Regions from separate parts of the Homo sapiens genome. Here region 2 is linked to region 1. The links are contacts of gene promoters, found by promoter capture Hi-C in blood cells and fetal thymus (Javierre and others, 2016). All regions are on one chromosome and are shown on one strand. The core of a region is centred on a gene start or on the middle of the fragment in contact, and the rest is flanking DNA. Distances in the headings are between cores, read along the strand shown.

Region 1 (4,780 bases), core at 2,262-4,761:
GATCTTCACCAACTACCAGCTGTCCTTAAATACAGTCCCTCATAGGATGCACAAAAGAGCCTGGGTTGGAGGGTCAGCCCTGGGAAGCTTGGGGTGGTCTGCAGATCTTGTCAGAAGATGGCAGTCCTGTAGATGAGGAAGGAAGAGGCCAGAGGTGAGGAGCAGTTAATGGTAAATATCAGAAACTAGAGAGTGATGTGGAACGAATAGGAGGAGGCATGGCGCACACGTGCTGGGTCCTGTCGTGTGTGAACCTCATCTAATAGTGTGCACTTCAGTGAGATGAGAATATTTCACTAAAGAAACAGGCTTCGCTCAACACCTCTCAAAGAGACGTGAGCCAGCCAAATACAGGGAACGGTGCTAAAGTGAAGAGTAGGGGGAAAATACATTTAGGGTCATTAACAAGCAGTTGCTGAAATCTGGAATATATACATCTTTTAAAGATTTAACAGTTTTTAAATCTTAACATGTAAAACCTGTGGTATAGAACCAACCCTCCACCTCACACATACGCTGTATTTACATTTAGATATCTTTCATCTCCAGTGGTCTCTGGCAGTCTCTAAATCTTTCCTTGTTTTTCGGGACCTTGACATTTTTGAGTACTGCTTAGGTATTTTGTAGACTGTTGCTCAATTTGGGTTTGTCTCACAATTGGACTAAGCTTATGGATTTTGGGGAAAATCACAAAGGTGAAGTGCCCTTCTCATCACATCATTTCAGGGAGCATCAGCATGACTTCTTCCTGGTGTCGTTCACCTTGATCACTTGATGAAGGCAGTGTCTGCCAGGCTCTTCACTATCAACTTCATAATTTTCCATGTTCATGCTGTGTTCACTATAAGTGAGTCACACACTCCAGCTCATAGTCAAATGCAAAGGAATTAATCTCCACCTCTGGGGGTGGGAGTATAATCCAATAATAAGTCGTTTGTTTTCTTGCTTAAATTGTTCTAGCTTTGGCCGTTGGGAATTGTTTCAGGTCACCTCCTGTGTCCCTTTGAGGTGCGCTGGTTCTTTTGGAGCACTTCCTTTCTGGCACTACAAGATGGTCCAGACTCATCTTTATCTTCTCTGCCCCAGCCCCAAAATCATCCATTTCAACAAGGTTCCCACTGGTTTAGAAACCAAGATCTGGGTGCTGGGTGTGCTTATTGCTCCTGGGGTGTCACTGCTTCTAGGCCCTCTCAGCAGACAGAGCTAGGAAGTATATATGTGTATACTAACCTGTATACACTGTATAATTGTATATCCATCCAGACATCTCTACAGTTATTTCTGTATCTCTCCATCTGTACATACATTAAATTAAGCATGGGTCCATACTGATGTCTCCAACTAACCCAGTACTACAAGGTTCATTCTAGCCTTCTTCTCACGCTTTTCTGTAACTTCTCTCCCTGACAATGAGAAAACTGGCTTGTACCATCCGCCATCTGCTTAGCTGTTCAATCCTAGTCTATTTGTAAAGCAGTTTCCAAATCATTAACCCATACCCCTGGGAGAAACAAATTTACCAACTAAGGTACAGAGTTTATGTATCTTTCCTATTGTCTCATAGTTTCCAGTCAAATACCATTTCCCAAAATTACTTGGGTTAGCTCTTTGAAATTAGCTTACTACTCTCTTGAAGATTTTTCAAGTTAAAGCAGGCATGGATAGTTTTAAGGACATTTCCAGGTACTCAGCTTCCATATATACTGTATTCCATACCTCTTAGTCATCTTCAATCTTGGCATTGCCCAAGGGCATAAACATTTCAAAACCATCAAACAAAAAAAACTTGAAATTATGTACAGTTACTGAGAGACTGGATAAGTATTGGATAATAAATCCTTTTCAAAATCAGAATGGCTTATGGGGTTTTGCTTTTAATAAAATTTCAGAAGACTAATGGAATTATCAGTTCATGATTATAAACCAGTTTTGGTGACAGATTACTATATGATTCTTGAGATACAACTAGACAAAAATTGAGGGACACTTTTAACAAAACTTTTCATTCCTATGTACTTATTTCTCAGCACTTACAGCCTTAAGAAAATGGAAGAGAATCAGTGTTAAACTTCATTGTAGCAAGAAGTTAGCATTCATCTATGGATACAGGAACTAACGGTGCATGGGAAGCCCATCCAGGTCTTAAAGAGATGAATTTTCAATACAATTTTATTTTTTATATTTAATAATTATCAGTATTGTGATACATTTTATTGTGATCAATTGTGTAGTACTAGTAATTTTAACAATTTAATCCAGAAAAACTAAAATTCTATGAGCAGGAAATATAAATTTCCATTTCTGTACTTCTTTCAGCAGTATGATAGGATGATCAATAAGACTTTCAAGTATGAAAAAGATAACGGGTAAAATTCTATCAGGAAAGTAGAATGAAGATATGATTTAATGAAGCATGTCTAAGAATTCTAGGGAAGAAATTTGGGTGTGGTCACTGACACGTGTAATTAAACAAAAACAAGTAGATCATATACCTACTAATATTTTGAGGGAATTTCACTGCCAAAGAAACTAACATTGGATATTCCAACTGCTAAACAACTTTTGGACTCCTGCTACGGGCTGCATTCACCCCCGCCGCGGCCACCCCCAATTCACACACTGAAATCTAACACCAATAACTAATAATGAGACTATATTCGGAGACAGAGACTTTAAAGATGCAATTAGATCAAAATGAGGCCTTTAGTTCAGCCCTAATCCAACTTGACTAGAGTGCTTACAAGAAGAAGAAATTTTTTGTGGCAGGGACGGGGAGGGGGCGGCGGAGAGATGATTTTAAGAAGGAAGAGTAATGATGTAAACTTAGGATTTTTAAGAGTTTTTTGTGGGTTTTTTTTGTGTGTGTGTGTGAGGTGGACGATGGAGGGTACCATATTACTGTAGTGTTTCGATTCAGTTGGATATATTTAACTTGCGTCACTATTTACAATTGCTGAAAATTACATTTTTTTCAACTACTTAAACATTTTAGACAGCAGCTTGATGTGCAAATCCAGAATGGGGCAGGGTGGGATGAGCACTGGGCGTGAGTGCAGACGCTTGGGCAGCGCCGGTTTCGTTAGAAAGTCCCTTGGCAGGCCGCCGCTGTGGCCCAAAGAGTAGGAAGCCGTTCCAGTCTCACGTCCACCTTTTGGCAATATTTGAGACCTTGTACAAGAAACACTCTTCCTGTATCAGTTTAGCTCATTTGTAAAACTGGGAGACTACTGCCTTGACGGGTTGTAAAGAAAAGAGAGAACGTTTGCGAAGCGTCTGGTGCACCTTAAGCAAGAGCGGGGAGCGCTACTGTAGACTGCAAAGCAAAGGAATCCCGACCCAAGGCAACGGGACGGTTGCGGGGTGACTCTGCCGGGTCTCCAAACTCCCTGGCGCCTGACCCTGCCTCGAGGTGGACTGGTCCCCAGGCCATTCCAGACCCGCGCCCCGCCCGCGTTTCCTTGCGCGGCTCCGCCCCGGCCGCAGGGAGGCGCAGCGGCCCCGGGAACCCGGATCCTTCCGGGACGCTTCGTTGGCCCCGCGGAGCCGGCGGAGCAGGTACGCTTGCAGGGGCCGCCCTTAGTTCTTGCCCGGAGCCGCCACAGGGCTTCGGGAGCTCGGCAGGGTGGGGGAAAGGGATGGAGTTTCGGCCTGGGGCGGCGGGGGCGGCCCAGAAAAGGCCTAGCGTCCTGGGCTGTGTGGGTGTAGCGTCCAGGGCGCGTCGGTCTCTATGGCAACGCTCCACACGCGGAGGTCGGGTACGGGTAAGCGTCTTGCCACTCACCCGCGGCCGCTTCCAGGGGCGGCCCTAGGGGAGAAGGAATTTTCCTAATTTGGGGGCTTCCACCCTTTGGTGCCACTTGGGCGGGAGGGTCGCGGGCCCTCAGTTCCCGGCGAGTCACCCCCGGCCCCAAGTCCGTATGCGTCTCTCTCAGAACCCGATCCTCCGGTGTCTGCAGCCTCTCCTGGCTGCGGAGCTGGTTCCCAGCCCCCTGCAACCCAGTACCGACTTCCCACCCTGACGTAAAATTATTCGAAAACAAGCCCCCTGCTCACCCCATTAACAACAACAACAAAACTGTATTATGCCCTAACTGTAGCATAAAGAGGAAATAGAAGGAAAGCAATAAGTAAGAAAGTACATATTTCAATCTGAAAATGCTTGGCACTACTACCCTTGGAAAATGTAGAGAAGTAGCCAGTAGCCGCGCCTGGGGAGTCGCCTGAACGTGACGGCAGCAAATGCAGATTGTTGGGTCTCCGGGACCAGGAGCAGCGTGGCCAGTGAAGCGCGTGGTTTTCCCAAATGGTGAACAATTCTTGGTAAACCTCCAAACCGAAGTGCAATCAAGCCTTGATTTACATGTAGTTGCATTCCTCGAAAAAAAAAAGAAGTGTTCATTAAAACTGCAAAAATACTTAGCATTTCGATGTAAAATAGAGTTTGGTTCTAGCCACAAACGGATTTTTCCACGCACAGGAATGTATAGGAAGACTCTCCAAGATTGTAGGGCCGCGGGGTAATCCTTTATTGTGCGGGACTGTCTCTCGAATCGCAGAATCCTACCATCTCAGGCCCCAACCACCTGTAAACCTCATGCCTCTGAATCTTGGGGAAACAGCTTCCCCACCCCCATATATTTCCAGAATTCCCCCTAGGGGGCAGTACGTCCCCACTAAGAAAGGCTGAACTATAAAAGTGCACAAGCCTAAGGACATTCCTGCTTTATAAAGGTGCGAAACACCGGATATAGTATCTTTCATTCTCAGAACAAACTTGCAA
Region 2 (6,221 bases), core at 3,258-5,757, 150 kb after region 1:
ATTAGCTCTCAAGCCTTCCTGTACAACTGTAAGATGGCCATTATTATTACTCCCGCCAGATGCCAGCCGGAGCTTTCTTGTATCTAAACCTGTGTTTGTTTTTTAAAACTCATCAGGAGAGTTTTTTCCTCCAAAGATCATCTTAATTGAAGAACTGAATTAAAAGCATACATGTGCCCTGTGTCTACACTTAAAACTATCCAAAACACAAACCTTTATACCTAAAGGAAACTGAGGCCTGGATTTGCTCAGATAATGCTGGAATTCATACTTAAAACTCTCAGACATACCCTCAAGAAATTCAGAAGTAGGAAAGACAGATATTTAAACAAATATATGTGAAAATGCTCTTTGAACTATAAAGCAATTTACAAAAGTGTCATCAATTCATCATTGTTGTTATCTTTATCACAGTCAATAATATTGTTGCCCAAATTAGAATGGTTTAACAAAACATTTTCTTCCTTGCCTTAGAGCAGGGGTGTCCAAACTTTTGACTTTCCTGGGCCACATTAGAAGAAGAATGTGTCTTCGGCCACACATAAAATACGCTAACACTAATAATAGATGATGAGCTAAAAAAAAAAAAAAAAAATTCACACCCAAAAAAATCTCATTATGTTTTAAGAAAGTTTACAAATTTGTGTTGGGCCGTATTCAAAGCCATCCTGGGCTGCATGTGGCTTGCAGGCCATGGGTTGGACAGGCTTGCCTTAGACAAACGGGAAAATCACATTTATTTTCTGCTTGTGAAAGTAACACTTGTTTTTTTAATTTAAGTTTGAAAAATTGGAACTATGTACAGATATTTTTAAAAATCAGTATTTCATAACTCACCAAAAGATAACCTGAATTTTCTCTACTGATATTTACGTTTATCCCCCTGTATACTTAATGTTCATAGAGGTTAATATGGGACATTGATTCTTCCTCAGTGGGGGTTTTAGAGACCAACCCCCACTGGCCTGGATGCCTGGGATGGTTTGGGTGAGATCCTTTCTTGAGTCAGGCATCATTTTTGACCTGTGCCCTCCCCTGTGAATTTGTGGCATCCAGAGAATTCTTAGATAAGGCCGAGCAAGGCAGTACTCATTCCAGATATTCAGGATGTACGTGGTCCAGAGCTGTTGTCTTCTCTGACTTGTGTCTTGTGTGCCTTCTCCTGTAAGTGTGGTTGCCTTGATTAGGGATATTGAGGAAAGTGGAGCGAGTGTGGATATTTTGCTGTAGTTTTCCTGAGGTGACAGATACTAGTGGGTGAAGCCAGGGCTCAGGCAGCTCAGCTCTCTTGTGTGTTAGCCTGGCTTGCTGCTTGCAGGTATGGCTGTTTATTTTCATTTCACTTTTCTGCATTGTAGTCTCTTCCTATAATTAACATGGCTGAAAAGAAAAGGTTACTCTAAAAGTTGTTTTTAAAAAATACAGAGCCTCTCGGATTTCTCAGCAGCGTTTAAATCCCAGCTCTGTTACTTAATGTTGATTTGTGCTCTTGGATAAGCTTCTGAGTCAGTTTCAACAGTGAAATGGTGATAATATCTCCTTCTAGAATTGCCCTAAGCATGAGGGATATAAAATGCCATCCTCATAAAATAACACTCAGAATCATTAATTATTTGTTATTATTGGATCTGCGTGCATATGAAAGAATCCGGACTTTTTTGTATTTTGAATCCCATGAAAGTTCAGATGTGTTAAGTTGTATGGGGGGAGGTGATATATTGGAAAAGTTGCCTTCATGTATAACATGTTTGCCTCATAAGTTGTTATGGGTGTTATACATCCTTCAAAGTGAAAGAATTCTTGAGGATAGGCAGCAGGGGACTGACTGGTATCCTATTTAAGGTTGATGGGAATCCAAGAGTGATCAAGAGACCTCCAAAGTGGCCAGTGGTCCTTCACTTGTACATGAGTTAGTATTTTTTGATTTGTGATCACAGCCACTTTCTAACAAAGCATGTTGTTTCTGCTTTTTCACTATCAGATTGGCTTTGAAAGCCTTCATGAAAACATGCCACCCAGTTTCTGATTTCTTCATATCAGAATGGCTTATCCAGAGATTTTGTTTTCCTTTCTGGCTTCATCTTGGTGAATCAGTAGTTATTTTTTTAACCTATATTTTATTTTAAAAGCCCTGGCACTCTCAGCAAATTTCGTGTGACTTGGGTACCTAGAGAGGTAGCAGAGAATTGAAATTCACTTTTGGACTCCCTTCTGTGGCCTCCTCTGCTTCCAGTCCTTTCTCATCCTGACGTCTACCATCATTTATCAAAAATTCAAAAGCTAGAAAAAGTCATTCTAAAGCCTGGTGTTGGGTCTGCAGAAAATGTCCCAAATGTCTGTCCGTAAGGAGTGCAGAATCTAGTGGGAATTAGATAAACTAGGGCTTTCACAAGGCTTTCTGGGATATCCATGTGGAACCTTGGCCTGCTCTCCATTTCTGTGACTCTTTGATGGGCCCTTAAATCTAAACCTGTGTTTGTTTTTTAAAACTCATCAGGAGAGTTTTTTCCCCCAAGGATCATCTTAATTGAAGAACTGAATTAAAAGCATGCATATGCCCTGTGTCTACACTTAAAACTATCCAAACACTACCAGTTGTTTAATGAGGTTGTTCCTAGACCAACAGATACTTTAGTGTTTTGTAGAGATATGTTATTTGCAAGGCTTTGTCTTCTGTAACTGCTTGGCCTTAAAAACCTGCCTGTCTAGAAAGGGGGGCCTCTGAGTAGTGTTTGATAATAAGAAATTGCTTTCAGTACTACTGCAAACCCTTTTGGCAGAAACATAGAATCAACATTCTAGAAATTAAGGGCTGCTGTTATGGTTTGGGGTTTGTAAAGTTGTAGTTGGAGCGAGGACCAAAAAATGTAAACTGGGTTATCATGAGGGATTTGTTTTTCCAACAAACTAGATGGTTGAGGGTTATGTCTTTCTTATTATGAGGAAGAGGTTTTTGCCTAATAAGGTACTATATGAAAATGAATGTCTTTGAATATCTTCTTAGTTTTTCTTTTATCCTTGGTTCTTTTTTAATTAAAGAAGTATTTAATTAACACCAACTACAATCAAGTCACTGTTCTGAGTCTTCTTTGTGCTCATGTTATTTTAATTTTAAATTAATTTTTAGATTTTGGTAATGTGTGTATTGTACAGTTAAATTATATAGTGAAAGTAATTCTCTGTATCCCAGCCACCTGGTCCCCTTCAGCTGCCTAATCTTCCTCAAATTCTGTACTAGCTTTTGCACTGTCCCAGAGATAATCCATGCCTATACAAGCATCCATTTGTATGATATTCTCTTGTTTCACACAGGTAGTCCTAGCACCATGACAGAATTGTAGCCCTCTCAGTGAACTACACACCCTTGTATTCAAGCTCCGTGTAATTCCTGCCCATATTGACTGTGCTTGGCCGTGTGACTGGTTTTGGCCAATGGGTGTTAGCAAGTGTGATGCAAGCAGAGGTTTGATAAGAGCTTGCACTTTGAAATGTGTTCTAGAGGAGTGCTTGCTATTGTGACACTCCCTCTCAGTACCCAGAAGCCCCCAGCTGTGAGGTCCCCACCTAGTCATAAAGAGAAGCCACATGGAAGAGAACCGGGTCCCTGCCAACAGCCTCATCTGAGCCCCTAGCCGGCAGCAAGCATCCACTTGGCAGCCATGTGATGAATGAACTATCTTCTTGGAAGTGGAACTGCCAGCCCCATTCAGGCCACCCCCAGTGGTGCTATGTGGAGAAGAGACAAGCTTTCCCTGCCAAGCCCTGTCCGAATTGAAAAATTGTGAGCTGTTGCTAGTAATGTACTAAAGTTGGTTTGTCATGTAGCAACAGATAACAAACACATGCTATATATATGATATTTTCTGTGCCTTGCTTTTGTTGCTGAGCAGTATATTAGATATCAGCTTATTTCATTACATACAGAGTCACATCATTCATTTTAAGAGCTGAATAATATTCCATTTATGGCTGTACAGTAATTAACTAGCCTCTTATTGATGGACATTGATGTTTCTAATCTTTCTCAGCATTTAATATCTCCATGGCATGCTTTGTTTTGCACATGAACAAATATATTTATTGGGTAAATTCTTAGAAGTAGAGTTGCTGAGTAAAAGAGTACGTAAATTTGTAATTTTAATAGGTATTGCAAATTGCCCTCCAGAGAGGTTACACTCCCACTAGCAATGTAGGAAGACTGTGCCAGTGTGGTTGGAATGTTACATTTCTTTTTAATATTTTCCCATGTATTTTAAAAACCATATGCATTTCTTTTTTGATGAACTGTCTTCTTTTTTGTTTGGATTGTTGGCCTTTTTCTTTTTTGGAGGAACTCTCTGTATTTAAAGAAATTAACTCTTAATGTATGCTATGTGAAGCAAATCTTTTTTCCCCCAGTTTTTTATCTTTTGACTTCATTTGAATAATTTTTTGTCCTTATTGTGTTTAGTTATGTCAAATCTTTTATAGCTTTTGGATTTTCTTGGTTTTGTTCTGGTTTGTTGGTCATATTTAGGCTTTTCTCACTTTAAGATTATTGTAGATATTCTCCTGTGTTTTCTTCTAGTGTTTTTGTTATTTCTTTTTTACATGTTAATCTTTGATCTGCCTGAAATGTCTTTTGACGTAGACGTTTCCAGGTAGGTGTCCGAGGTGGCTAGTCATTTGTCTGTTAATATTGTTATACCATGTCATCCTTACTATACAGTCATGATGCTTTAGTCAATGATGGACTGCACATATGACACTGGTCCCATGATATTACAATGAAACTGAAAAATTCCTATTGCCTAGTGATCTCGCAGCTGTTGTAATGTCATAGTAATGCATTACTCATGTATTTTTGGTGAGCTGGTGTAAACCAACTTACTGTACTGCCAGTCATATAAAAATAGAGCACATACAATTCTGTACAGTACATAATACTCGATAATAAATGACTATGTTACTGGTTTATGTATTTACTATACTCTATTGTTATTTTAGAGTGTACTCCTTCTACTTATAAAAAGAAAAAGTTAACTGTAAAGTAGCCTCAGGCAGGTCCTAGGAGGTATCCAGAAGAAGGCATTGTTATTATAGGAGATGACAGCTCCATGCCTGTTATCGCACCTGAAGACCTTCCAGTGGGAGAAGATGTAGAGATGGAAGACAGTTATACTGATGATCCTGACCATGTGTAGGCCGAGGCTAATGTATGTGTTTGTGTCTTAGTTTTTAACAAAAATGCTTAAACAGTTTAAAAATAAAAAAATTTTAAAAGCTTATAGGATAAGTATATAAAGAAAATATTTGATAAAGCTGTCCAGTGTGTTTGTGCTTTAAGCTAAGTGTTATTACAAAAGAGTCGAAAGTAAAAAAAAAAAAAATTAAACGTTTATGAAGTAAAAAAGTTACAGCAAGCTGAGGTTAATTAATAAATTATTATTATTGTTTCAGAGACAGGGTCTTGTTTTGTCTCCCAGGCTAGAGTACAGTGGTGCAATCATAGCTCACTGTAACCTTGAACTCCTGGGCTCAAGCAGTCCTCCTGCCTCGGCCTCCCAAAGCATTGAGATTACAATGAGCCACTGTCTGGCTATGTTGATTTATTGTTGAAGAAATAAAACTATTTTTTATAAATTTAGTGTAGCCTAAGTTTACAGTGTTTATAAAATCGACAGTAGTGCAGTGTCCTAAGTCTTCACATCTACTCAACACTCATTCACCGACTCACCCAGAGCAACTTCCAGTCCTGCAAGCTCCATTCATGATAAGTGCCCCATACAGGTGCACCATTTTTTAATCTTTTATATTGTGTTTTTACTGTACCTTTTCTATGTTCAGATATGTTTAGATACACAAGTACTTACCATTGTGTTACAATTGCCTACAGTATTCAGTACAGTAACATGCTGTACAGGTGTGTGGCCTAGGAGCAACAGGCTACACCATACAGCTCAGGTGTTTGGTAGGCTACATCAGCTAGGTGTGTGTAAGTGACTCTATGATGGTCACACAACGATGAAGTCACAATGATGACTCATTTCTCAGAATGTATCACCATCCTTAACATCATTAAACATTCATGTATTTACTGGATTCAGCAATATCTTTTGAACTGCTGTCCCCCAAATTACTTAATTATTCCCTTTTTTCTCTTAGGAAATGCTACAGTGAATATTTAAAATTCTATGTAATTATTAATCCCAAACCTTTGTGGATATAGAAATCAACATTTA

What was found. The method cuts DNA at HindIII sites, captures the fragments that hold promoters and counts their contacts. A CHiCAGO score of 5 or more calls a contact.
Region 2: a fragment that was not itself captured here is called in contact with the fragment with the promoter of NEK5 in region 1 in 5 of 17 cell types (megakaryocytes, erythroblasts, M0 macrophages and 2 more); the score reaches 6.6 in megakaryocytes.

What each region holds. Positions count from the first base shown.
Region 1 is chr13:52,127,804-52,132,583 of GRCh38, reverse strand. NEK5 (NIMA related kinase 5) reads left to right here and starts at 3,511. Exons shown (of 24, transcript NM_001365552.1): 1 at 3,511-3,555. It overlaps LOC101929657 (a long non-coding RNA gene), which reads right to left and starts at 3,689. Exons shown (of 2, transcript NR_110306.1): 1 at 527-3,689; 2 at 1-126. RefSeq lists an enhancer at 1-233. The HindIII fragment of the contact is 11,669 bases long and covers 670-4,780 here.
Region 2 is chr13:51,976,380-51,982,600 of GRCh38, reverse strand. The region is part of intron 1 of ATP7B (ATPase copper transporting beta); the gene reads left to right. Among named protein-coding and RNA genes, the nearest start is that of ATP7B, 32 kb to the left of the region's middle. The HindIII fragment of the contact is 1,517 bases long and covers 3,749-5,265 here.